Regions from separate parts of the Homo sapiens genome. Here all the other regions are linked to region 2. The links are contacts of gene promoters, found by promoter capture Hi-C in blood cells and fetal thymus (Javierre and others, 2016). All regions are on one chromosome and are shown on one strand. Each heading gives the region's core, a stretch centred on a gene start or on the middle of the fragment in contact. The rest is flanking DNA. Distances are from core to core; before and after follow the strand shown. Region 1 has its middle 51 kb from the start of LINC02606. Region 2 holds the start of CTNNBIP1-AS1 (CTNNBIP1 antisense RNA 1). Region 3 overlaps KIF1B (kinesin family member 1B). Region 4 overlaps SLC25A33 (solute carrier family 25 member 33).

What was found. The method cuts DNA at HindIII sites, captures the fragments that hold promoters and counts their contacts. A CHiCAGO score of 5 or more calls a contact.
Region 1: a fragment that was not itself captured here is called in contact with the fragment with the promoter of CTNNBIP1-AS1 in region 2 in 1 of 17 cell types (neutrophils); the score reaches 5.2 in neutrophils.
Region 3: a fragment that was not itself captured here is called in contact with the fragment with the promoter of CTNNBIP1-AS1 in region 2 in 1 of 17 cell types (neutrophils); the score reaches 5.3 in neutrophils.
Region 4: a contact is called between a fragment that was not itself captured here and the fragment with the promoter of CTNNBIP1-AS1 in region 2, in 2 of 17 cell types (neutrophils and non-activated CD4 T cells). The highest score is 8.0, in neutrophils.

Annotation. Positions count from the first base shown.
Region 1 is chr1:9,476,498-9,483,795 of GRCh38, forward strand. No RefSeq gene overlaps it. Among named protein-coding and RNA genes, the nearest start is that of LINC02606, 51 kb to the left of the region's middle. RefSeq lists a silencer at 6,339-6,539. The HindIII fragment of the contact is 2,490 bases long and covers 4,727-7,216 here.
Region 2 is chr1:9,845,845-9,852,349 of GRCh38, forward strand. It overlaps CTNNBIP1-AS1 (CTNNBIP1 antisense RNA 1), which reads left to right and starts at 2,474. Exons shown (of 3, transcript NR_199045.1): 1 at 2,474-2,622; 2 at 3,525-3,630; 3 at 4,142-4,310. CTNNBIP1 (catenin beta interacting protein 1) reads right to left here. Exons shown (of 6, transcript NM_020248.3): 6 at 2,432-4,932. The coding sequence ends at 4,874. LOC105376717 (a long non-coding RNA gene) reads left to right here and starts at 4,821. Exons shown (of 2, transcript XR_946952.3): 1 at 4,821-5,200. RefSeq lists enhancers at 2,473-2,974, 4,109-4,248, 4,329-4,378, 5,414-6,214. The HindIII fragment of the contact is 10,320 bases long and covers 2,149-6,505 here.
Region 3 is chr1:10,279,745-10,286,379 of GRCh38, forward strand. It overlaps KIF1B (kinesin family member 1B), which reads left to right. Exons shown (of 49, transcript NM_001365951.3): 15 at 2,578-2,789. Among named protein-coding and RNA genes, the nearest start is that of KIF1B, 72 kb to the left of the region's middle. RefSeq lists an enhancer at 3,569-3,618. The HindIII fragment of the contact is 4,728 bases long and covers 1-4,197 here.
Region 4 is chr1:9,576,072-9,582,804 of GRCh38, forward strand. It overlaps SLC25A33 (solute carrier family 25 member 33), which reads left to right. Exons shown (of 7, transcript NM_032315.3): 6 at 3,883-4,163; 7 at 6,228-6,733. The coding sequence ends at 6,430. It also overlaps the pseudogene RPL9P11. Among named protein-coding and RNA genes, the nearest start is that of TMEM201, 9.5 kb to the right of the region's middle. The HindIII fragment of the contact is 1,791 bases long and covers 3,576-5,366 here.

The sequences.
Region 1 (7,298 bases), core at 4,722-7,221, 370 kb before region 2:
ACCTGTAGTCCCAGTTACTCGGGAGCCCAAGTGGGGAGGAGTGCTTGAGCCTAGGACCTAGATCGAGGCTGCAGTGAGCTGTAACCACACCACTGCACTCCAGCTTGGGCAACAGAGTGAGACCCTGTCTCAAATAAATAAATAAAATTAAAGTGAACAATTTGGTGGCATTTAATACAATCACAATGTCATGCAACCATCACCTCTGTCTAATTCCAAAACATTTTTATCCCCCCAAAAAGGAAACTCCCTACCCATGAAGCAGTCACTCCTCCTCATGCCCCATCACTCCCGTCACCCACTAGTCAGCATTCTGTCTCTATGATTTATGCATTCTGGGCATTTCATACAAATGGAGTCAGACATCTGCACAGCTCCCTTCTCTCCTTGTCCTGACCTCCCTTCAATCCAGGTGACTGCCTCACCCCCTGCTTTCAGGGGCAGGCACATGACCCAAGTCATGCAAATCAGAGTCATCATGATCAGTTTCTGAAGGGAGCTTGTGACTCAATCCCAGCCCATGAGAACACCCTCAGGACATCTGCTGAATCTGCAGGATAGGAGGCTGGAGTCGCTGGCAGCCACCTTTACTGCCACCCAGGGCACAGTTTCTGAGGGGAGCTTATGACTCAATCCCAGCCCATGAGAACACCCTCAGGACATCTGCTGAATCTGCAGGATAGGAGGCTGGAGTCGCTGGCAGCCACCTTTACTGCCACCCAGAGCACACCCACTTGAGAATGAGACCCACACGGAGGAAAGCAGAGACAAAGGGGAGGCCCATTCTTGTCAATATCACCTGAGCTCCTGGATCCACCTCTGCCTGAAGGCAGAACTAGCCTTAGAGGCTGTTTACTTTTGAAAACCATTAACACCTTCTGTACTTAAGTTAGTTGGAACTGGATTTCTGTAATTTGCAACTAAAAGAGACCTGATTAATATTTGTGGCAAGGGGGACTCCAGTTTCACTCTCCTGCCTTGGCACCTTCCCATTCCTTGTGGAATAAAATGCAACCTCCCTCTTAAGGGGTCCTCCCTCCCCTTTCAGGCTTTGTACCCCTGCCTCTCGGTTAACACACCAGCTCCACAATTCTCACACACACACATGCATGACACACCCACATGCACACACACATATGCACCCATAGACACATGCACATATACACACACATATGCACCCACACACACGCATGCATACACATACACGCTTCACACACATGTGCATACACATGCACCCACACACATATACACACACATACACACCCACACACATACACATGCATACACATATGCTACACACACATGAACACACATGCACCCAGACACACATGTATACACATATATACACACCTATGTACATATACACATGCATGCACACATGCTACACACACATATGCACATACATGCACTCACAGACACGCATATGCACATGCATTTACACACAAGCATACACACACATTACACACACATATGCACCCACAGACATACACACGTGTACACATGCATATACACACATTCATACACCCACACTACATACATGCACCTGCAGACATACACACGCATATACACATGAATTTACACACATGCATACCCACATGCTACACACACATATCCACCAACATACATACACATATACACATGCATATACACACATGCATACCTACACACTACACACATATACACTCACAGACGTACACACATATACACATGCATTTACACACGTGCATACCCACATGCTACACACACACATGCACCCACAGACATACACACACATATACACATGCATTTACACACCTGCATACCTGCATGCTACACACATATCCACCAACAGATATACATACACATATACACGTGCATATACACACATGCATACCCGCACACAACGCTTCCTCCTGCCACAGGGTCCTTGCTCTTGTCTCCTTTGCCAGGACACTCTCATCGCCCCCTCCCCAGCCCCCAAACGCTTACTCATCCTTTCACACTCGATTCAGGCGTGACCTCCTCCAAAAAGCCTTCCCTGACTCAGCGCCCTCCTCTCCTCCATCTGGAAGGTGGCCTCCCGGACCCCCGCAACCCCATGCGTGGTTCCTCGCAGCAGTTGCCCTCAGGCTCCTGTCAGTTATCTGTCTGTGTCTCCCGTCTGCCCCCTGCACAGCCACACTGGGATTCTTCAGGGCAAGGTGTGTGTCTGGCCATGGCTGCCCAGTACCATGCTTGGGCCATATAGTAAGACCTCAATTCACCTTTGTTGAATGAATGAATGAACAAAATGCCTTGGAACACTGTTTTAAAAGAGAGGTTATTGGCCGGGCATGGTGGCTCACGCTGTAATCCCAGCACTTTGGGAGGCCGAGGCGGGTGGATCACCTGAGGTCAGGAGTTCAAGACCAGCCTGACCAACATGGTGAAACCCCGTCTGTACTAAAAATACAAAAATTAGCCAGGCATGGTGGCATGCGCCCGTAATCCCAGCTACTCAAGAGGTTGAGGCAGGAGAATCGCTTGAACCCAGGAGGCCGAGGTTGCAGTGAGCCAAGATTGCACCACTGCACTCCAGCCTGGGTGACAAGAGCAAAAACTCCATCAAAAAAAAAGGCCAGGCTCAGTGGCTCACCCCTGTAATCCCAGCACTTTGGGAGGCCGAGGCGGGTGGATCTCGAGGTCAAGGTCAAGAGATCAAGACCATCTTGCCCAACATGCTGAAACCCCGTCTCTACTGAAAATATAAAAATTAGTCAGGCGTGGTGGCACGCACCTGTAGTCCCAGCTACTCAGGAGGCTGAGGCAGGAGAATTGCTTGAATCCGGGAGGCGGAGGTTGCAGTGAGCTGAGATCGCGCCACTGCACTCCAGCCTGCCAATAGAGCGAGACTCCGTCTCAAAAAAAAAAGAGGTTATTTTCCAAGTTTTCTCCAAAGATACAGAGTTTAAATTTATGCCAGCAGCCTTTATCCGAGCAAGCGGCCAGTTCCCATTCTGTCCCATATTTAAGGATGCAATTTCTAATACTGCAGCCATCAGTATTAGATGAGTATTCCTTCTGCTGAGGTCAACCTCTGGAGGCCCCTGCTCCCTTGCCTGCAGCGGCTCACAGGGAGACCTCTGACACCAACAGCTGGAGGAGGGGTGGAGTTCACTCCCCCCAGCCCCAGTGATCTGACTAGGTGTTTCAACACCACCCAAAGTCTATCTGACGCTCTCATAGTGACTGCATTCATGGGTTTTTGTTGTTGTTGTGTTTTTTTTGAGACGGAGTCTTGCTGTGTTGCCCAGGCTGAAGTGCAGTGGCTCAATCTCAGCTCACTGCAGCCTCTGCCTCCCTGGTTCAAGGGATTCTCCTGCCTCAGCCTCCTAAGTAGCTAGGACTACAGGTGCATGCCACCACGCCCAGCTAATTTTTGTATTTTTAGTAGAGGCGGGGTTTCATCATGTTGGCCAGGCTGATCTCAAACTTCTGACCTAAAGTGATCCTCCCACCTCAGCCTCCCAAAGTGCTGGGATTACAGGCTTGAGCTACCGTACCCGGCCCATTCGTGTTTTTCAATGTGAGAGTCCAGAGGCTGTTAGACAGGGTCATCCGCTGTCCCCCACTTCCTCACTTGATTCTAACTTGGAGATCAGCAAAGATGGTGATGTCAGGCCCCTCGCCTGACCATCACCTCTGGATGCCAGCTAAGGTGTGGACAGATGGGTGGGGCCAAGCTGGGTGACCCAGGACTGCTTGGAAACTGGCTACCAAGAGAGGACCTGAGCCAAAGGACCGAGATGCATAGTTCACCCGGACTGCAGGCAAGACCAGTTATGTTTCCTTGGGGTGGACCCGCTCCCCTGCTGGTGCAACCACGGACTTGTCAGGGAGCAAAGGTTGTTTCTCTAGAGCACTCCATGCCCCTTGGAGCTGCTGGGCTTCGGAGCCAACTATCATATTTAACTTCCCTGGACCAACTCCACTCCACACCCAGCTCCTAGAATTCTTTTTTTTTTTTTTTTTTGAGATGGAGTCTCTCTCTGTCACCCAGGCTGGAGTGCAGTGGCGCCATCTTGGCTCACTGAAACCTCTGCGTCCCAGGTTCAAGTGATTCTCTTGCCTCAGCCTCCCTAGTAGCTGGGATTACAGGCATGCACCCCCGACCCGGCTAATTTTTGTATTTTTAGTAGAGACAGGGTTTCACGATGCTGGCCAGGCTGGTCTCGACTTCAAGTGATCCACCTGCCTCAGCCTCCCAAAGTGCTGGGATTACAGGCGTGAGCCACCATGCCCAGTATTTTTTTTTTTTTTTTTGAGACAGAATCTCTCTCTATCGCTTAGGCCGTAGTGCAGTGGTGCAATCTCGGCTCACGGCAACCTCTGTCTCCCAGCTTCATGTAATTCTCCTGCCTCAGCCTCCCAAGTAGCTGGGATTACAGGCAGCAGCCACCACACCGGGCTAATTTTGTATTTTTAGTAGAGATGGAGTTTCACCATGTTGGCCAGGCTGCTCTTGAACTCCTGACCTCAGGTGATCCACCCGCCTTGGCCTCCCAAAATGGTAGGATTACAGGTGTGAGCCACCACATTCAGCTCCAGCCCTTAAAATTCTAATAACCTAGTCTCTCCTAAGACTTAGCCTAAAAGAACGAACAAGCCTCCCTTTCCACACTGTCCTGGGGGAAACCACCACTGGCTGAGTGCCAGCAGGTGCTGGCCTCTCTCCTGGGCTCAGCAGGGCAGGTCCTGGCTGGCCCAAAGCTTCGTCCTCTGGAAGCCTCCTTCACCATCCTGTCGTACAAGCACCTGCTCTTCCCTCCCTGCCACACGCTCGCTTTGGGCTCACTTGGCCAACCTCCAAGTTCCCAGCCAGACCCAGCAGCCGTGCTGGTCAACCCTGGAAACATGGACTCTGCTTTGAAATTCCTTTGGAAATTATGGTCAAAGTTTCCTTCACAGGGACTCATTTTTCCAGGAACATTTTCTACCAATTTGGGGAAGGTGGGGTGTCTCATTCGTTCATTCATTTACCCAGAGCCTACACTGAGCCAGGTGCTCTGCAAGGTAATGGACGGGGCACAGATATTTCAGGCAGTGCCCACCCTGGACCCTATAACAAAACGGCCAGGTGCTAGAAGAGCAAATTCATAAAGTGCTCTGGGAACAGAGAGAAGGAGAGAGCCAGGGTCCCTCTGAGGACCTCCCTCTGTTTATTTATGTCACAAAAACGCGTAGGAACATTCTGTGCCACCATTGTTTTGCAGTGTGCAAATCTGTGCAAACCTGCCCCCAAAGTCCAAGGGAGCTGAGAGGTGGAACAAAGAGGCTGATATATCATTTCTCAGAAAGGAACTTTTTTTCTCTGTCTTCGAGACAGAGTCTCGCTGTCACCCATGCTGGAGTGCAGTGGCGCGATCTTAACTCACTGCAACTTCCCCCTCCCGAGTTCAAGTGATTCTCTTGCCTCAGCCTTCCAAGTAGCTGGGATTACAGGCACCTGCCACCACACCTGGCTAATTTTTGTATATTTAATAGAGATGGGGTCTCACCATGTTGGCCAAGCTGGTCCCAAACTCCTGACCTCAAATGATCTACCTGCCTCGGCTTTCCAAAGTGCTGGGATTACAGGCATGAGCCACCGTACCCAGCTTCGGAAGGGAAATTTAATAGGGACTTAGGAACAGAAGCCATCATTTCAGGCGGCTGCAAGGCAAGATGATGGATCCCTACGCCATTCCCTCCCAGACCCAGGGCTTATACACCAATAGGGAAGCAATATATAAGACAATTGTAGAGAAAGGTAAGCATGCCAAGTGAATCTGCCTAAGGGCAGGGCTTATGGTCTAGGTTGTTCTGGGACTGGGTGTGGTGGCCCATACCTGTAATCCCAGCACTTTGGGAGGCTGAGGTGGGAAGATCATTTGAGACTAGGAGTTCAAGACCAGCCTGGGCAATATAGTGAGACCCTGTCTCTATTTATATTTTTTTAATATATTTTTTCAAAAGGTTATTTTGACCTAAAGGCAGGATTTACCGAAAGTACATGTTCTTACGCAAGAGCAGTAGACAAAATAAAAATCTCAGAGGCGTTCCTGGAACTGGTGATAATCAGAAGTCAACACAGCGGGTTAGTGTCCTAGACAGGTCTGCTTCGGCCTGCACACAGGCATTGTTCTAAGTATGTTCCAGATGCTAAGTCGCTTAATTCTCATAAAGGCTTTACGAGGCAGGCACTAGTATTACCACATTTTATAGATACAAGGGCACAGAGAGGTTAAGCAGCCTGCCCGGGTCACACTGCTGCTAAGTGGCAGAGCGACATTTGTACCCCAGCACTCAGGCTCCAGGCCCTGCTGTTAGCCACCGACAAGGCTGCCTCTGCTGATGGAGGGGCTCTCCAGCTGAGCAAGGGTGGCCAAGCCTGAGCCAGCTGCTGGGACACTCGGGAAGTGACACAGGCATATCTTCACACCAAGGAGCACACTGGGAGCACCCTGCTCAGCCAAGCAACCCTGAAGTCAGAGGCCGGCCGAGCCAAGGGGCTCCAAAGGGAGCTATGAACTCCCGGGCTGGACCGCTCTGTCTTTGTTCACAGCCTTCAAGGGAGAGCTCCAAGGACCATGTGAGTCCCTGCAGGGGAGCCATGGGAGGTGGCCTCCCCTCCCCAGAAAACAAGGTTTGGTGCCTGCCCTTGAGTGAACAGTTCGTCCCTGAAGGAAAAACAAAACAATAACATTCAGCTCTGGGTAAAAGATGTTCCCACTGCTACTCCACCAGGGAGAGAGAGTGCACTCATGAGAAGGGCTCGCTTTTGTAGGAGCAGGTACATCTTTTTCCTGGCCTGGAGCCCGTTACAACCACGTCATAAACGCCATGCCAGAGAGGGTGCCCTGCACTGGCCCCACACGGCCCACGTCACCTCTCCCAGAGGGCTGGAGAGCGAGCAGCGACATGGGAGGCTCCGGCAGGTCCTGGCCTTAAGGGTCACCGGCTCCCTGTGACAGCTGACTCCACTCCTGGGAAGAGGAACAGGAGAAATCCTAGAACCAGGAGCCGATCCCATCCACGTGGTCTCTGCCCTCAGAAAGAGGCAATGCTGGAGAGAGGCATCCCCCTCCAGGATGGAAACCACAAGAGCCCCAATTTCTGTCTGTCCTGTTTGCCACTGGGTGTCTAAAATACCACTGGGTGTCTAAAATACCATGTCACAAAGCCTCCACAATTTTTCTCTAAAGGATTCGATGTGAGAAGCTTAGGCTTTGCAGTTCACCAGTCTCAGTGCAAATCCTCCACTCTGCCATTGGAGAGCACACACTGCCTATAGCTTCTGA
Region 2 (6,505 bases), core at 1,224-3,723:
TAGGAGACACCTGTCAAAGATGTTTGTGAAGATCCACCTCCTTCCACTGGAAGCAGCATGGTCAAGACCAAGGGTCAGGCAGTGGAAACTCTCAGAGGCTCTGGGTCTGAAGTCACCTCCTCTGGGGTTGCGCAGGGCGGGGCGGGGCTCCCACAGGTGTGCAAACAGGGACGACCACCTGTTGCACACACCCCTAACCTAGGGGCTCTGGAAGAGGAGCAGGGGCAGGGTGGGTAGGGCGTGGCTCGTCCCTGCATCAAGAACGCTCATGACTTCCGTGCTGGCAGGACTGGAAGGCCCTTCTGGGAACCATCTGTGATGGGGAAGTTCCAATGTCAGGGAGAAAAGTGAAAGCAAGACACTAGTTGATATTCAAAAGGCATTTCACTGCCCTTGTCCCTTGAGAAGGACTTTCTTCAAATTAGAAAGTCCTAATAGGACTCGCCCTGCAAGTCCCCCCAAATCTCCTGAACATCAGTTGTTTCCCAGAAGATCAAGTGCTTTCAGTGGACAGTGCAGAGCGGGGAAACGTTTTCTCAGCACAGCCTCAGGTTAGTCGGTTAGTCTGGGTGCATTTTATCCTTCGGGAAATGAAAAGGGTTGGGTGGCCATGGGCAACCCAGAAGAGGGAGGGAGAGAGATAAAGACAGAGAGAGAGAGAGAGAGAAATGAACCTGCCCTGCCCAAGCAAAGGCGGCACCTGGGTGGTGTCAGGGGTCCCCTGGGGCCAGAGTTCCCCCTACCACCAATGGAAGGGATCATATTCCCTGCTAAAAAGACCCTCTTCAAAGGCTGGGGCCCGCCTGGATTCTCAGTGCTGGTATTCACCTGCAGGGACAGGGAGAAGAAGCGCTTCATTCATTCTCAACTGCCCGCCCCCCAAGGCTGGGAAACACCAAGGGCCACAGCCCTCAGCCTCCCCACCCCAGGCTCGGCCTGGCCCCCTGCTGTCTCCGGCAGCTCTGCCTCCTTCCCCGCAGGCTCAGCCTGGCCCCCTGCTGTCTCTGGCTGCAGCAGTCCCAGCGCTGCCTGTTGGGGTCATTACCCCATCCCGTACCTGGGAAGGTGACCCAGGAGGTTGCCTGCTGTGTGGGCTGACGGACCCCGAAAGACCCAAGGCTGTCCCCAGTGTTTTTCCTTTGCCTGCTGAAGTGTCCCCGACTCATTTACGTGGCCTACTTCCCATGACAGTTTAGGCAGCTTAGACAGGTTAGACAGCGCCAGGAGGACGACCCCGCTTGGCTCCGGTTTCCAAGCTCTCTGCTGGGGGCTGGGCAGGTGGGACCAGGGCCAGCCGGTCAGTCCCTTGAACTACTCAGTGGCTCAGCTTAGAAGAGCTGATTAACTACAAGGCTGACAGTGTCACTCAGAGCGCTGGGCAAGGGGTGGAATCTGCACATAATCTACCTACCACGGACCCTTGGATGTGTGTCTCTATGTAACTTCTGGTTAACACAGCAATCTCTGTCTTTCTCTCAATGACTGCAAACTCCTTTCTGGACAAGAAGTTACAGAAAGAGGCAGATCAACTTAATGTAAGGATAAGCATAGGTTACATGAACATGGTCTGGACTAACTTGTGAGGTAGTGAGCTCCCCAACTCGAGAGAGTATTCAAGCAAAGCCTGGACAAGGTCTTTTCAGAAATGTTTCAGAGGGGCTTGTGCATCTAGCTACTGCGTGGGCTGCTACAAGACCCAGTATCTCCCCCAACACAAAGACTTAATGATGTTGGTTGTGCCATTGTACTCATATTCTGTAAACTCCATAGCCTCTAGGACCCAGTGAAATTCTTTGAAAAGGAAATAGAAGCAGTGAGACTATGTAAACAGAAAAAAAAAAAAAAAGACCCAAAAATGGGATTATGAAGGGTGGAAATGAAAATTTCTAGAAAATGCTTCTGAAGCAAAAATTATTGAAGCAGAAATGATTTCAGCTTCCAAACTTGTACATACAGCTAAAAACCAATATATCTTCCACTTCTGGGATGGTGGAAGGGACAGATATTCTGTTTGGGTGTCTGTAACAAGCATTTTAAAACTGGTGCCATCACATCAGGATGTTGGGGTGCCTAGGATGGCGGGGTCCCCACATCCTTACGGAGTGCTTAGTGTCTTTTCATAGGTGTGGAAGACGAGGTTGCCTCTGAAGCTTACTGATCTCAGTTGAATCTGGAATGATGTTTAGAATCTCCAGGTCAAAAAGAAGGTTCAACCTTCTTAACGACCCTTGAGCTGGGCTGGGTAGATCTAGAAATTCTTCCAAACCCTGAGCTCAACTCAGGTCACAGACACTTATCAAACTTGGTGTTGTCCTTCCTGGCTGCGCCTCCCTGGGAAGGAGGGGCCCCCGCAGCAGCAGAGCCCACGTGATGTGGGGAAATCAGTCAGAGCGCCTGATTCCGAGGGAGAAACCAGCTCAGCTCACACACGAACCTATGAAAATTCTTTATTGTTAATTTCTTTCTCCAACAGATATATTTTTAGTTGAAATATGGAGCCACAGCAACACTTTGACTTTTCCTCTTCAGAAGATGAGACAGGCCGGGGTCATCATTGTTACAAAAGCAAGGCCTGTGATCGTGACAAGGACAGGCTGGGGCAGAGACCACACACTCAACCAGGTATCCACCAGGTGTGGGCCCTTTATAGGAGCTACAAAGAGGGGGCAGCCAGCAATGTGGCCTCGACACCTGACTCCAGGCACTCCGACCTGGAGGAGGGAGATGAAAGAACTCACCTTTCCCCAGGGGCTCAGCCAGACCTCCAGGCCCCTGAGCGGGGAGAGTGCGTGTGTGTGCACATGTGTATGAGTGTGCACACGGGTGTGCTCACTCACACAGCACATGCACACATGCGCTGCCCCTCCTGAGATGCTCTCAGGTCCCTGCCAGGGTAGGGTTGTAGCTGTGTTCCCCACAGCTGACTGTCAGCTAACCAGGGCTAGGGGTGAGTGCATGGTGGAGGACACAGGGTCTTAGCCTGATGCTCGAATCCTCCTTCTGGAACAGGCTGATGGTGCCAGAGCACAGCACGAACCACCTACCCACCATGGGGCTCTCCAGGGCTCGGTCATTTGGCTCCTGTGCACTTCATGACACTCAGGAGCCCCTACGGCCCGAGCCCCAAGCCCCGAGAAAGGGGAAAGATTTGGTTCTGAGAGGGTCCCACTGGCCCTGGGCACCTAGGGGCCTCAGCATCTACCAGCATAGGGGAGGGTGGCGGCCCCCTTCCTGAGGACTGCATCTTTCTCCAGCCGCTCTCCCCAGATCCCACACCTGCCAGTGAGCCAGGGAGATAGGAGGACCACCTCCCTCCCAGGGAAGGGGGTGGCAGGTGGAAGGACTTAGGTTTGGTGCAGGAACACTAGACCTGCCCCTCACCCCCTGCCTCCAGGACTGCCATTCTGAACTGCAATTCTGGGCCTGAGTTTGGCTTAAGGGCCAGTCTGAAGGGACTTGCTTGGTGAAGGCCCAGCCAGCTGTCCCAGTGGCATTTCATAAACAAACGATACTGTCCCTTCCAGGCTGACCTGGAGAGAGACCCTTCCAAAGGCAGTGGAGTGGAGGGCATGGGCCTCCGATGAGAGAACTCCAGAGCTGGCCGGGACCTACTGTGCTGGCAGCAGACAGGTAGGAGCCTGGCTGGGGTAGGTCAGGGGTTGGTGTTTAGCTGGAGGTCTCCTGGGCCTTGTGAGCCAAGCTGGGGCTTTTATGTGGGTTCTGGGCTCCCAGAGACCTCCGCCAGATGACCTCCAGAGTCTTTGGGGTCTCACACTGGGAGAAGCTCCTCCCCTTTCCAAGATGACCCCCAAAATGAGGCCTCAGGAAGTGGTACACAGAAGGATGGCCAAGAGGACAGAGCTGGGTAGTACGCCTCTGCTGGGCGCGGCCTGGCCGGTGGGGCCTGGACGGTGCCTCAGCAATCCCTTTCTCACCAAGGGACGCTGGCTGGTTGCCAGCTCATGCAGGCAGTGCACATAAATCCCGCCTAACGGTTACCTCTAGGCCCTGGGCTGCTCGTTCAAGACGACACAAAGCTCCTCAGGGGCCCAACTTTCCAGCTGTGGACCCTGCTCAGGGTTCTCGGGGTCCCCTTGCTGGTGGAGGCAGGTGCACTCATTAAAGCAAATGTACTCTCCAGGTGGACCCTCAGGCCCAGAGCCGGCAGCAGAGGGGGGTGAATCCATGGCAACAGGAGTCACAGGTGAACCAATGGGAAACCAAACACACGCATCGAAAGCCAATCAAACACAAACCCCAAATGTGAAGGCAGCAGCAAGTTCTTTGTGTAATAAATATTGCAAAGCGCACTTGGTTTCTTTCTTTTCAAGTCAAATATAACGACTAATGTCCCAGACCCTGTTTTCTGCATTCAAAATAGGGAAGCTGTTGATATCAGCAGAACACCTGCAGCCAAAGAAAAAAACCGTTTCCCATTAACCAGCCAATCACAGATCCTTTCCAGTTTAAGCAGCCAATCAGACCTCTTCACATTTCTAAAAAAATGACCTAACTAAAGCACCAGAGCTCGGAGAGCTTCCAGGGAAGCCAGATACCGAGGCGCAAATTTTTTAAAAAATAAGAGTCAGAAATAAAAATAAAAGGTTTCTGTTGGTCAAGATTTAAAAAATAAAAAAGTTTCTTCCTGCAGCCAATCACAAGTCCATCCCTTTAAGCCAATTATAAACGCACCACTGGTGTCTCCCTTGATGCCAGCCCCACTGAGTAGCTGTGAGGTGGGGTGGGGCAGGGCAGGGTTGGGTAGGGGAAGGGGGAGGTGGGGCAAGGGGGGCTGCTGCCACTCAGCCGGCCCAGGAGCCACACAGATCTCTTGGCCCTCAACAGCATCCAGGGTGTTCCAAGGGCTTTGCAGCTACTGCCTCCGGTCTTCCGTCTCCGACCTGGAAAACGCCATCACCACGTCCTCTGCACCTGCAGATAAGGCGACAAGGATCGCTGATGGGGCTTGCAGCATTGGCTTGCGAACAGGACAAGCAAGGAGGCTGCGGCCAAGCTGGAGCCCCCGCCCACCAGGATCGCGGCACTCTCTGAGGACAAAGTACTTCCGAGGAAGTCTTCCTCCCCTCTGGTCTTCCCTGCCTCCTGGCTGGGGACAAGGCTTGCAACCCTGCTGTAGGGCTGCAAGGCAGGGCTGCCAGGGTGAGGCTCAGAGGCTTGCTCAAGGCTACACAGCTGACAGGTGAGCCATGACGAGGCCCCAGGTGACCTGGAGCAGGGCTCAGCGCTGCTCACAGCCCTTGCTCCAGAGTTACCAAAGCCAGAGGCGGGGTGGCCCTTGGGAACCTCCCTCTTTCTTCTCAAGACTCGCGTCTTGATGCCTTCGGAGGGTCTGGCTCACTGTGGTTTTAAATAGCCATTCCTCTTTGCAGCAGCTTCTCCTTCACCCAAACCCAACACCTCTTCCAAGAAGTATGGCCGGGCCCACGTCCAGCCTGCTGTCCGCCTGGCTCTGACTGAGACAGATATGCCCACAATCCTTCTTTTTCTTTTTCTTTTTCCTTTTTCTTTCTTTTTTTTGTGTGTGATATGGAGTCTTGCTCTATCACCCAGGCTGGAGTATAGTGGCACAATCTCGGCTCACTGCATCCTCTGCCTCCCGGGTTCAAGCGATCCTCCTGCCTCAGCCTCCTGAGTAGCTGGGATTACAGGTGTGCATCACCACGCCCGGCTAATTTTTTTGTATTTTTAGTAGAGATGAGGTTTCACCATGTTGGTCAGGCTGGTCTCAAACTCCTGACCTCATGATCCACCCACCTCGGCCTCCCAAAGTGCTGGGATTATAGGCAGGAGCCACCGTGCCCAGCCAATCCTTCTTTTTCTTAATCCTGAATTTGAGATTCTGGCCCAGGCACTTGTGAAATCACGTCCTTTGTCTTGTTTTCCAGAGGACAGGCTCTGATGAGTGGCCAGGACAGGCAGTGGCAGGAGGGCAAAGCTCGAAATGCTGACCTGCCACCCACACCCACAACTGCCTGGGGAGTTAGGGGCTGACATGGCCAGGGAGGGGCTGTGGGCCAGGAGGTGACCTGTAGGGCCCCACCTTGACTCCCTGACCCTGTCCTGCTGCTCTCACCCCCTTTGTAAAAGGCCAGATCTTCACTTTGCCCCGAAAAGTACCAGTCTGGCTGCCCATGGTCTTTCTGACATGTTGTCTGTGCTACTGCAGGTATTCTCTCTGGGAGGGGGTGGATCGGAATAGGAGAGACAGGAAAGGCCACCCGAGGGTGGGCCAGTGTGGGGAGTGTGAAGTGAGGCTCCTGGCATGTGAAATGGAGTCAGCAGAGTGAGCCGGCCTCCACTCAGTGAGCCGGGTCTCCCCCACAGCCGGCATGTGCTGACCTCCTTCCAACTGCTCTACCAAGAGAGGGAGGACGCACCCAGCTGTCGGGAGGGCCAGAGATGGAGGGCCCAACTACAAGGATGCAATGCACAAGACACACCTTCCACTTGGCACTAGAGAACCAAGGTGCTGCTAAGGGAATGA
Region 3 (6,635 bases), core at 584-3,083, 430 kb after region 2:
GGAGTGTAATGACATGATCGTGGCCCACTGTAACCTTGAACTCTTGGGCTCAAGTGATCTTTCCAGCTCAGCCTCCTGAGTATCTGAGACTACAGTTGTTCGCTGCCACACCTGGCTAATTTTTTAATTTTTTATTTGTAGAGGTGAGGGGTCTCGCTGTGTTTCCCAGGCTGGTCTGGAACCCCTGACCTCAAGCAGTCCTCCTGCCTCGGCCTTCCAAAGTGCTAGGATTATAGATGTCAGCCACCACACCCAACCATTCCTCTTTTCATAAGTCACAAATTAAAATAACTTAGGTGTCTAAAATGACTCAAACATTTTTAAAGAGTCACATGAACCTCATTATTCTCTCCACATATATCTTAAGTTGGTGAGGAAATTATTTCTTACCCTTTTAAGGTAATTCATCAAGAAATTGTTATCTTAGAAGAAAAATGTCTTGATTTTGGGGCTAATTTTTAGATTTGTACTGAGTTATTTCTTTTTTTTTCTTTTTTCTTTTCTTTTTTGAGATGGAGTCTTGCTTTGTCGCTAGGCTGGAGTTCAGTGGCGGAATCTCGGCTCACTGCAACTTCCGCTGCCTGGGTTCAAGCGATTTCTCCTGCCTCAGCCTCCCGAGTAGCTGGGACTATAGGTGCGCACCACCACGCCCAGCTTATTTTTATATTTTTAATAGAGATGGGGTTTCATCATGTTAGCCAGGATGGTCTCAATCTCTTGACCTCGTGATCCTCCTGCCTTGGCCTCCCAAAGTGCTGGCATTACAGGTGTGAGCCATCAAGCCCAGCCACCTGAGTTGCTTATTTCTACAGTAAGGCATGTAATGAGGCTTGGCAGACAGTGAGAAAATGCATAGGAGAAACCAAACATAGCCCTGGCTGTGGTTATGAGGTTAGGGCTTAAAGGCACTATAATGTCCTGATACAGAAGTGACTCTTGGACTGCAACAGCTCTGTCTGAGATTTCCAAAGCTCAACGATACTGGTGTGGAAAAGGTGCCTTCTTCTTTTTGCTTTTGTGCTCAAGGTGTTGCTGCTGCCAGCTTGTTGCCTACCTCTTTTCTTAGCAGCTGCGGCATTTCCTGAAAGACCATGCATGACTAAGTTTTAATTCTGTATTCCTGAGGGAAAGCAGCCCTGACTCCTTCTCAGTTTCCATTTTGATCTATTTCTCTTTATTCCTTTTAGGGCTTGCATGTGACCATTGGACCTAAACTCTGTCCATCCTGGTCTTTTCTCCCAATGGCTAATTTTTTGCTCTAATCCCTATCCCCCTTTTAAAAGATGCCTCTTTGCTTGTTGCCCTATGTTCTGTATTTGCAGATGGTGGTTTTCAAACTGTCTTGAAGCAACCACTGGCTTTAAGGGAGTTAAAAAACTGGCTTTAATTAAATAGTAGAGATGAGTAAGCCCAGGGAGAACTAATAGTATTTTTTTCCAGCTATGTGTATTGACTCATCTCCTTTGAGGAAAACTGACTTAGTTTTGATATGAATTTTAGTTTCTCAGGTTTAAAAATAAGCTAATTTTAAAGTTGGATTGCACCAATACTTAAGATTTACCTTTGGTATCTTTTTGCAAAGGATGACTAATGAAAGAAAGTAATGAAAGAAAGTACAAACAGCAAATTAATTAATTTTGTTGTTTGTGGCTTAATTTTTTTTTCTTTTACCAATACTGAGTGTAAAAGCAAAATTAACAGTTCTATTAAAGACTTAGTAAATGGAAGTATGTTCCTAAAACTTGCATTTTATACTAGGAAGCAGGCTTAGCAGTGACCCATGGTTGTACTGTTAGGCTAATTAAGGGCCTTAAATTAGCAAATAATCAGCCTTATTTTTTGCTTGCTCTGACAGAAGAATGGAACCTGCACTAAAACTCATTAATCTGCTAATTGTTCTTCCCTGTTGAGGCAATCAATTAGTCCTGAGTTTTTAACCAGGACTTATACAAAATTCCTCTCATTTCTATAATTACCCCTTTTTTATTTAAGACATATTAAAAATCCTTTTAGCATGTTGAAATGTTGCCATACAAAGCATACTACTCAGTGCACAAATTTTGTTTTAACTGTAACATTTTCTTGGAAATTTTTGCTGAATTACACGTAACACTGAGCCAGACCAATATGGATTATTATTGATAAATAAATGATCATTGTTTTCCCTTACTGTTACAAACTACTGGAAAAGTGTAAATCTGAAGACATTGTAGACTAGGAACACTAGAAAGACTAAATGGAAGGTAGTTTGGCTTTTTTAGGGAGAGTGCCTAAGCAGTATCCTTTGAGGCTCTGGTTTATCCCCCTGCGAGATACAGCGTTAACCTACATTGGAATCTTTTAGTTTGTAAATGCAGAAATGATTCTGAACCTGTAGGATACCACTATTAAAGACAGACATGTTTTAGAACTGCCATCTAGAACAGTTGTAACCTGTGTTTGTATTATAGCGTGTCTTGGTCTTGGCGCTTTAATGCTGTCCTTTCTTACAACGATATTCCTTCCTGTCTTTTTTTCTTCCTCTGCTTCTTTCCCTTTTCCCTACTTTTCCTGCCTTCTCTTCTTTCTATCTCCCAGATCTGAAAGATTTTCAGAACAATAAGCATAGATACTTGCTAGCCTCTGAGAATCAACGCCCTGGCCATTTTTCCACAGCATCCATGGGGTCCCTCACTTCATCCCCATCTTCCTGCTCACTCAGTAGTCAGGTGGGCTTGACGTCTGTGACCAGTATTCAAGAGAGGATCATGTCTACACCTGGAGGAGAGGAAGCTATTGAACGTTTAAAGGTAAGTAATAGTTCAGACTGAATACAAGGTATTCTATGTAGCTCCACAAGGAAGAACTAGGAGTAAAAATCACTAAGATTTCGACTCAGCATATGGAGAACTCTTTGACTCTTAGAAGTGTCCTGAAAATTGAATTTTGTGCTTTGTAAGTTAATTTCTTTTCATTAGAATGCCTGAGTCTGACATGGCCAGGCAGAGTTGGGAGAAGTGCATGGGCAGTTCATAGGCTGGCAAGGCAGAGTAACAGATTAATAGATGTGTACGTTAATTCTGGGATAGTACATCAAGTTACAGTGTAATTGTTTTGTTAGAAATTTATTTGGAAACGTGGTTTCATTGAAAGATGGAATTCTGTGTAGAGCCATGCTTCTGTTAATAAAGATGAAGTTTGGGCCGGGTGCAGTGGCTCACGCCTGTAATCCCAGCACTTTGGGAGGCCGAGGCGGGGTGGATCACGAGGTCAGGAGATCAAGACCATCCTGGCTAACACGGTGAGACCCTGTCTCTACTAAAAATACAAAAAATTAGCCGGGCGTGGTGGCGGGCACCTGTAGTCCCAGCTACTCCTGAGGCTGAGGCAGGAGAATGGCATGAACCCAGGAGGCGGAGCTTGCAGTGAGCCGAGATCGTGCCACTGCATTCCAGCCTGGGGGACACAGTGAGACTCCGTCTCAAAAAAAAAAAAAAAAAAAAAAAAAGATAAAGTTAGAACATTTGAGTAGCTGTTCCAGGTTTATTCAGATAGTTATTAAATTATATCTTCTAGAAGTTCACAGAAAGCCTTGATGCCCTATGATTACTGTACAGGAAGGTTATCTCCTCCTATGCTGGTACCCATGGGGTCACAGGGCCATAGTGCTGCATGTATGCAGATTACTGGCCTATGGCTCCCAGCTTTGCTGTTGGAGGTATTTCCCAGCCCCTTGCTGGCTCTGTCAGGTTCGATCTTATCTCTTTGTATGAATATGAAAGTTAAGAGCAGCAGAGCCTTCTGACTCATAGCTGCTTCTCTTCCTCCTCAATTAATTCAGTGCACAGACAGTTGTCACCTGCAGTGCTGAAAGCTGTTCAGGAATCCTGCCACCCATCAGATGACTGTGACAGCATCATCTGCTTTGAAGCAAATATTTTTTCTTTCCCTACTTGTCACCTCCAGGAAGATAGTTTGACCCATACCTTTTAGCCATTGTGTTCAAGAGTGCTAGGGTAGGGGACACAGGGAGGACAAAAAACACTTTTTAAGAGTCTGAGAAGTTGCAGTCATGCTGCCAGCCAGCAGTCTTCTTCACAGTCACTTGGTATTCCCCTTGACTGCCATTCATGCAAGGACGATAGAGAACAGTGACACATTGACACATTTAATAGGTAAAAGGCTTGCCGAAAAACTCTTTAACACTAAAGTGAATTAAGCTTGATAATTGAATATGTCAGATGCTTTCATTTTAATTTTCATGTGAGGCTGAAAAAGATTTTATATGAAGAAAGAGGTTCTGCTTTTTCTTTCTTAATCAGCCTACCTTTTCCCTTGACATTTTACTTACTTCAAAAGTACAGTGTGGGCCGGGCATGGTGGCTCACACCTGTAAACCCAGTACTTTGGGAGGCTGAGGCAGGAGGATCATTTTAGCTCAGGAGTTTAAGGCTGCAGTGAGCTGTGATTGTACTGCTGCACTCCAGCCTGAGTGACAGAGCAAGACTCTATCTCAAAAAAACATGCTTTAGAAACAAAAATAAGGCCGGGCACGGTAGCTCACACCTGTAATTCCAGCACTTTGGGAGGCCAAGGTGGGCGGATCATCTGAGGTCAGGAGTTCAAGACCCGCTTGGCCAACAGTGAAACCCCATCTCTACTAAAAATACAAAAAAATTAAGCCGGGCTTAGTGGCTCATGCCTGTAATCCCAGCACTTTGGGAGGCTGAGGCAGGCAGATCACTTAAGGTCAGGAGTTCAAGACCAGCCTGGCCAACATGGTGAAACCCCATCTCAACTAAAAATAAGAAAATTAGCCAAGCATGGTGGCACACGCCTGTAATCCCAGCTGCTTGGAGGGTGAGGCACAAGAATCACTTGAACTTGGGAGGCGGAGGTTGCACAGCCTGGAGATTGCGCCATTGCATTCCAGTCTGGGCGGCAGAGTGAGACTCTGTCTCAAAAAATAAATAAATAAAAATAGAAAAATTAGCCGGCCATGGTGACGTGCATCTATAGTCCCAGCCACTCGGGAAGCTGAGGCAGGAGAATCCCTTGAACCCAGGAGGCGGAGGTTACAGTGAGCTAAGATTGCGCCAATGCCCTCCAGCCTGGGCAACAGAGTGAGACTCCATCTCAAAAAAAAAACAAAAACAAAAATAATGTGCTTGTTTCTTCCTTCAGAACATGTAAGTGGAAAGTGAGTGAAGTTCTGCAACACCTAGCAAAGGGAGAAGGAGTGAGAAATCTTTCCATTAAATGTTGTAGGCTGCAGGGTAACTTTTACTGTTGGTAAAATTGACTTTGAAATTTTACTAAAGACCTTAGTGAAGAGGAGTGGTAAGACTCCATTCACACATTTTCTCACAATAGGCGTCAGTGACCATGTTGCTTTGCAGGGCTCTTTTCAGAGCCAGAGTGAGAAATAGGGAGCTCCTTGGGAATGAGAAGTAAAACTCCCACTTACTGAGTCCTTAATATAAAATGTTCTTTTTCTTTGGGGATCTTAAGTCTTAACTATTTGCTTATTAAAGCCTTAGCTCTTACACTTGAGATTACCCTTTCCTTTGACCTTCCTCTTGATGTAAAGGAGAAATTTCTCCCTAACTGCCAAGTGGGACCAATTGAAAATAATGTCACATGTTAGGAGTCAAGACATTAACCAGACTCTTCAAGATTCAGGTAACCCAGTGTCTTCCAAATAATTTCTAGGGAATAACACTGTCATTATTCAGGGAACTCTCCTTCCGACTTCCCTATGTCCCACTAAAGCAAGACAAAACTGTATTACTTCAATCAGAAAACAAATTTCTCTGTTTTAATTCTTCCTTACGCCAAAATAAAGAACTCTTCTGTTTTCCCTAGTTTTATTCTAGAAAGAAAACAGCTTCCTTAGTGTTTTGTGTTGTCTTGAGTTTTTAATGCAGTGTGGTAGTTCACTGAAGCATAAGCACCTTAGTTCTGCTCTTATTTTGTGAATGGTGAGAATTTCTTTCGGGCAGACCTGCATTTTAATGCTGCACGCAGATAACATCTTTCATCCGTAGCGCCAGGGCAATGGTTGTGCAGTAGAAATGCTTGAGAATATCTAGGAACTGGGTTCCTAAGGCATGGTGCTGCAGGAGAAAAATATTATAATGGAAAACAGCAATAGAGGAGGTTAGTTTATTTTCCTAACATTTTATTTCCCTTTGTTTCTTTTTGACTTTAAAAAAGGTCAGTTGATTGGATACTGTTTTTACACATGATGTTGCTGTGGCTTTGTTCACTGAATAGCCTTTTTCCATATGTTAGGTACTCATGTCACACCATTGTAAAGATGTTTTTTTTTTTTGAGACAGAGTCTTGCTCTGTTGCCCAGGCTGGAGTGCAGTGACGCGATCTCGGCTCACTGCAACCTCCGCCTCCCAGGTTCAAGCAACTCTCCTGCCTCAGCCTTCTGAGAAGCTGGGATTACAGGCATGTACCACCACATCTGGCTAATTTTTGTATTTTTAGTAGAGACGGGGTTTCGCCATGTTGGCCAGGCTGGTCTCAAACTTCTGACTACAGGTGATCTGCCTGCCTCGGCCTCCCAAAGTGCTGGGATTACAAGCATGAGCCACCATGCCAGGTCTTCCTGTCAAATAAGGTTTTAAACATGCAGCTGTAGCCAC
Region 4 (6,733 bases), core at 3,221-5,720, 270 kb before region 2:
GAGAGCCTGTATATGTATTCTTGTCATTCTGCCTAATGATGGTGCTCAAGAATACTTTAGAACTTTGGGTGAGCTCTGTTAATATTTGTCTCTCAGCAGTGAATATTTGTTGCTTGCACTAGTCACTAGGGAAACAGCAGGGAATTAAGACCTAGCTTCTAGGAACTTACAGCTTCACAGATAAGATAATTAAAGTTTGGTGGGATAAGGTTGCTGAGGGTGCCACTAGACCTTCAAGAGTCACCCAGTACAGGTTGGGTTAAGAGAGAGAAGGTTGGGAGGGCCTTCAGAGGCAGCAGCACCCAACTCCCATCTTAAGAATAGCCAGGTGGGCTTTGCCGTGTCTACTGTGAAAATGAAGACCATTCACAGCAATCAGACTGTTGTCATTCCAGAAAATGTCAACATTACCCTGAAGAGATGCACAGTTACTGTGAATGGCCCCAGAGGAACCATGCAGAGGGACTTCAGTCACATCAATGTAGAACTCAGTCTAAAGAGGCTCTGGAGTGCCACACGGTGGGGTAACAGAAAGGAACTGGCTACCGTTCGAACTGTTGGTAGTTATGTGCAGAACACGATCAAGGGTGTTACACTGGGCTTCTGTTACAAGATGAGGTCTGCGTATGCTCACTTCCCCACCGACATTGTTATCCAGGAGGATGGGTCTCTTGTTGAAATCCGAAATTTCTTGGATGAAAAATACACCCGCAGGGTTCAGATGAGACCAGGTGTTGCTTGTTCAGTATCTCAAGCCTAGAAAGATGAATTTAATCCTTGAAGGAAATGACATCGAGCTTGTTTCAAATTCAGTTGCCTTGATTCAGCAAGCCACAACAGTTAAGGATATCAGGAAGTTTGGGGATGGTATCTATGTCTCTGAAAAAGGAACTGTTCAGCAGGCTGATGAATAAGATCTAAGAGTTGTCCCGCTACAGAAACAACATGCTGGATGATTCCTAAGACCTATTGGTGATATTTAAATGATGCCATAAAAGACATTGATTTGGGAAGAAAAGAATAGCCAGGTGGGGGCGGCAGAGAAGAGTCTTTTGGGCAGAGAGAAGGTGAGTGTAGAAATCTTGAGTCAAGAAAGCATGGTTAGGCTGGACTCGGTGCCTCACACCTGTAATCCCAGTACTTTGGGAGGCCGAGGTGTGCGGATCACTTGAGCTCAGGATTTCGAGACCAGCCTGGCCAACATGGTGAAACCCTGTCCTACAAAAATTAGCCGGGTGTGGTGTCATGCCTCGGGAGGCTGAGGCAGGAGAATGGCGTGAACCCGGGAGCCTGTAATCCCAGGGAGGCTGAAGCAGGAGAATTGCTTGAACCCAGAAGTTGAGGTTGCAGCTGAGATTGCACCATTGCACTCCACCCTAGGGGACAGAGTGAGTAAGACTCCATCTCAAAAAAATGAAAAAAGGAAAAAAGAAAAGAAAGCATGGTTAGTTCTGGGGAGCCGTAAGACAGGGAGTGTAGTTGGCGTGTAGTACGTGCATCTGCGCTGGAGAAGGGAGTTATGGAAGAATAAGGCTGGAGGAGCAGGGGAGCCCGATCCTTCCCAGGCCTGAAAGGGAGTTTGGAGTTGGGCTTTGAGGGCAGTGGAAAGTCATCAGAGCAGTGGTCCTCAGGGGAAATGGAGGATGGAGGTAGGGGGTGCCCTCCAGGGGACATTCAGCATTTAAGTTTGGAGACATTTGAAGTTGCCACAACTTAGGTGAGTGTTTTTGGTGCCTAGTGTGAATAGAGGCCGGGATGCTGCTAAACCCTACAAGGCACATGACAGCCTGCTTCTCCCCAAACTGAATAGTTTAGCCCCAAATGTGAATAGCGCCAAGGGTGAGAAACTCTGGATGTTTTGTTTTGTTTTGAGACAGAGTCTTACTCTGTTGTCCAGGCTGGAGTGCAGTGGTGCATCTCAGCTCACTGCGAGCTCCGCCTCCCGGGTGCACGCCATTCTCCTGCCTCAGCCTCCCGAGTAGCTGGGAAGTGCCCGCCACCATGCCCGGCTAATTTTTTGTATTTTTTAGTAGAGACGGGGTTTCACCGTGTTAGCCAGGATGGTCTCGATCTCCTGACCTCGTGATCTGCCCACCTCAGCCTCCCAAAGTGCTGGGAATACAGGTGTGAGCCACCGCACCCGGCCTCTGGATGGTTTTAAGCACGGGAGTTGCATGGTTGGATTTGTGTTAGAAAGGTCACTGCCGCTAAGGAGCGGGAACAGTCTATGCGGAGATAATAAAGAAGGGAGAGAGGCCAGCTGAGACTGAAGCCCAAGGGGCCCCAGGTCTGCGCCCGCTCGGAGGGGTCTGTGATGTGTGACCGGTGCACACCTAACTACACTCATCTGGTGGCTCACTCTTGCCTTGCAGCCAGGCAGTTCATAAATGCTTTTTGTCCTGGGGTAGGAGCCTCTAAACCTCATGGTTTTCATTTGCTGTTTTATTTTGATGTTTTATGATTTTATAAATTTAGCAATAATAGAATCTATTTGGAGACGAGTGTGATCAGAAATCTAATAAGTAGCCTCACCAACAGGTTGGAATGTTCCTATTTTTCTTTCTTATTATTTACTTTTTTGTAGAGATAGAGCCTCACTACATTGGCCAGGCTGGTCTTGAACTCCTGGCCTCAAGCAGTCCTCCCGCCTTGGCCTCCCAAAGTGCTGGGATTACAGGTGTGAGCCACTGCTCCCAGCCCTTGTGATCATCCTTTACCTTTAACTTAGTCCTGTTTTCCACTGAAAGCATTCCCTGTGTCTCACGGCCTTGTGACTTAATCTAGCAGATATACCGTGGTCAGCTATCTGGATTGTTGTCCTGATTGTTTTGCAGTTGTAGTTCCTCTGTGATGAGCCTTACTGCTCCCTGCAGCTCTTTCTAAAATTAGGTCAAATGCTAATGTTTTTATGAACATGTTTCTATGACTCTTGATACAGATGTAGCTAGTGTTCTGTGGGCCTGTCAGGTGTGCCAGCTACTTGGTCTGGCCTCACAGTGGGCTGGAGGTCAGCTGACAACAGTACAAAGATATGTGGGAAAAACTCTCCTCAAACCATGTTTTTCCTCCACTGTCACACCACAACAGTCATTGACACAGAAGATGACTTCTGTGACCAAATGTGTAGGGGGTTTTCCCCACACACACCAAACAGCGGACACCAGCTGGGTGTCCTCTCATTCACTTCCGACACTGTCTACCAGGAGACAGCCCCACAGATTGGGGGCTCAGTCCCCAGGACTGCCCACCCCCCGCCCACCCACTTACCCACACACCAGTTGTATGTCTGGGCCTCCAGAGCTTCTGAACGACCAGCTTCAAGTTGGGGTTCCCATGACCCTCTCTTTGGATTCTATTAATGTGCTGGAGTGGCTCACAGAACTCAGGGAAACACTTAATGTTTACTGGTTTGTTATAGAGGACATCGCAAGGATACAGAAGAAGAGACAGGTAGGGCCAGGTACAGAGTAAGGGGCGTGGAGCTTTCATACCCTCCCCGGGGGCCACCCTCCAGGAGCCTCCATGCGATCAGCTCTGGAAGCTCCCTGAACCCTGTCCTCTTGGGTTTTTCTGGAAGCTTCATGTCAGCAGCATTCCTTCTCCCAGAGATAGGAGGGGACTCTCATGGAGTAAGACCAACAAGGTAAGGACATTAGAGGATGGCCTTGGGGCAGGTGAAAGGAGATCAAGGGACTGTCAGAGGCTGCCCCTGCGGCCTCACACACCCCACATAACGAAAGACAAGGGCTATGAGAGTTAGGAGCCAGGAAACAAGTATCCTAACACCATAAGGAAGACCCGTACCTGTTCTCCTACTGTGTGATGTCTGTGTTCCACCATGATATGTCTCCTTAACAGCCTGTGTTGGTCTCTTTTATGCAGAGTGAGGGGCTCTAAGCAGATGAATACACTCCAGTGTGCTCGTTACGTTTACCAGACCGAAGGCATTCGTGGCTTCTATAGAGGATTAACTGCCTCGTATGCTGGAATTTCCGAAACTATAATCTGCTTTGCTATTTATGAAAGTTTAAAGAAGTATCTGAAAGAAGCTCCATTAGCCTCTTCTGCAAATGGGACTGAGAAAAATTCCACAAGTTTTTTTGGACTTATGGCAGCTGCTGCTCTTTCTAAGGGCTGTGCCTCCTGCATTGCTTATCCACACGGTATGTTTTGCTTTTGTTCTTCCAGAGCAGTAAAACAGCTGTCACGTTTGTTGTTTGTGGGTATATCTAGACTTCTGAGGCGCACATTGAGGCGCAGGATCCCTGCAGGTAAGGTCAGTGAGTATGAGGGAAACAGCTCTAACCGCATGGACAGAGGTCACGTGAGTGGTGGGAACTCGACCTTACTCAAATCCAGCTGATTATAGCCAAAACTTGTTGTGCAGAAACGCAGGTCCTGGGTTGCTGAACTTTTGCTGTTTTCAAGGAAGCTAAAAATCTGGATTGTATTTAATATTCCTTGAATCAAAATGATAATATGGGAGCCAAACTTACTCAGCCTCGGCGGGGCACGGTGGCTCACGCCTGTAATCCCAGCACTTTGGGAGGCTGAGGCGGGCGGATCATGAGGTCAAGGGATTGAGACCAGCCTGGCCAACATGGTGAAACCCCGTCTCTACTAAAAATACAAAAATTAGCTGGGCGTGGTGGCGCACGCCTGTAGTCCCAGCTACTTGGGAAGCTGAGGCAGGAGAATCGCTTGAACCCGGGAGGTGGAGGTTGCAGTGAGCCGAGATCAAGCCACTGCACTCCACCCTGGCAACAGAGCGAGACTCTGTCTCAAAAAAAAAAAAATAATAATAATAATAATAATAATAATAATCATTCAGCCTCTATTTCTAATGGAGCCTTAAGGCTACTTTGGGTAAGTTTATTTTTTTGAGTTATAGAATTCTTGACCTACTGGCCTACTTATTTTAAAAAATGCTTAGTTTATTGTGCCATGAAAAACAGGTTTTATTTTCATAAGCCTTCTGTACTGTCAGCTATGGCAAATGCATACAGTCAACTCAGTAACAGGTGCTGAGTCCCCTTTGTGTCCTGGAGCACTAAGCTGACCCCAGAGGACATCTGAGGAAAGAGGTCAGTGATGCCTCCCAGGGTCTGAGGTCTGTGTGAGGGCAGGAGTGACGAATGTCCAACTCTAGGTGTCTGGGAAGGAGGCCCAGGTGGGCAAAGGCTGGCAAAGGAGAGGGTGGCTTTTGAGCTGGGCAGAGTAGAAAACGTTTCCAGGAGGAGGAGGAAACTGAAAAATATAAGAAAAGAATTCGTTGAAGGTATTGCCATACTTCATACAAATTAGCATTTGCTTAATTGGGAGTAGAAAACCATGAATTATTTTAACATTAAGTCTCATTGAAACTAAGCTTTTTTTAACCCCTTAAAAGTTATTTTGCTGTAATCCCAGCACTTTGGGAGGCCAAGATGGGCACATCACCTGAGATTAGGAGTTCGAAACCAGGCTGGCCAACATGGCGAAACCCCGTCTCTACTAAAAATACAAAAATTAGCTGGGTGTGGTGGCAGGTGCCTGTAATCCCAGCTACTCAGGAGGCTGAGGCAGGAGAATCACTTGAACCCAGAAGGCAGAGGTTGCAGTGAGCCAAGATCGTACCGACTGCACTCCAGCCTGAGTAATAGAGTGAGACTCTGCCTCAAAAAAAAAAAAAAAAAAGTTATTTTGTACTTTCGTGTATGTGTAAGTGTCCATAGTTGACCAAATCCTAGAGTTGGAAAAGGTTCTAAAAAGAACTTAATTTTTCATTGTCTCTCTAGGTTATGTGACTTTCCTGTCCAAATACAGCTGAGGTGGGAAATAGACACAGTTGTAACCTTGACAATTTTATTTTATTTATTTATTTTTTGAGACAGAGTCTTGCTTGCTCCGTGGCCCAGGCTGGAGTGTAGTGGCACGATCCCGACTCATTGCGACCTTCACCTCCCAGGTTCAAGCGATCCTCATTCCTCAGCCACTCTAGTAGTAGGCGTGCACCACCTTGCCTGGCTAATTTTTGTTTTTCAGTAGAGACGGGGTTTCACCATGTTGGCCAGGCTGGTCTCCAACTCCTGGCCTCAAGTGATCCACCCGCCTCGGCCTCCCAAAGTTCTGGGATTACAGGTGTGAGCCACCGCACCCGGCCTAACCTTGACAGTTTTAAAGTTGTGTGCTGTGGATTCGTTCCCCATTTAATATGTGGCGTAAAGTAGGTCTTTCTCTCTCTGCAGAAGTCATAAGGACGAGGCTCCGGGAAGAGGGCACCAAGTACAAGTCTTTTGTCCAGACGGCGCGCCTGGTGTTCCGGGAAGAAGGCTACCTTGCCTTTTATAGAGGACTGTTTGCCCAGCTTATCCGGCAGATCCCAAATACTGCCATTGTGTTGTCTACTTATGAGTTAATTGTGTACCTGTTAGAAGACCGTACTCAGTAACAGGCCGGAAAATTGTGCTCTAGAAGAATAAAACTGAAAAACTCTAGAGAATTTTTTTTCCCCATTGATGTTTAGAAAGTTTGAGACTGAAACAGGAAAGGCCATAAAATATCTGGTTCATATCACCTGTTGGACATTTCCTTTTGGATTCATGCTTTCTGGAAGGTTTAAATTCATTAACGTTAATAGTTAATTATAACTTTTTTTTTAACTTAAGAGGATTCAGGGTTAAGCACCAACTAAATTAAATCATGCTATTTAATTTAAGTATACATTTGGCTTGTGTCCTCTTTTATGCTCACT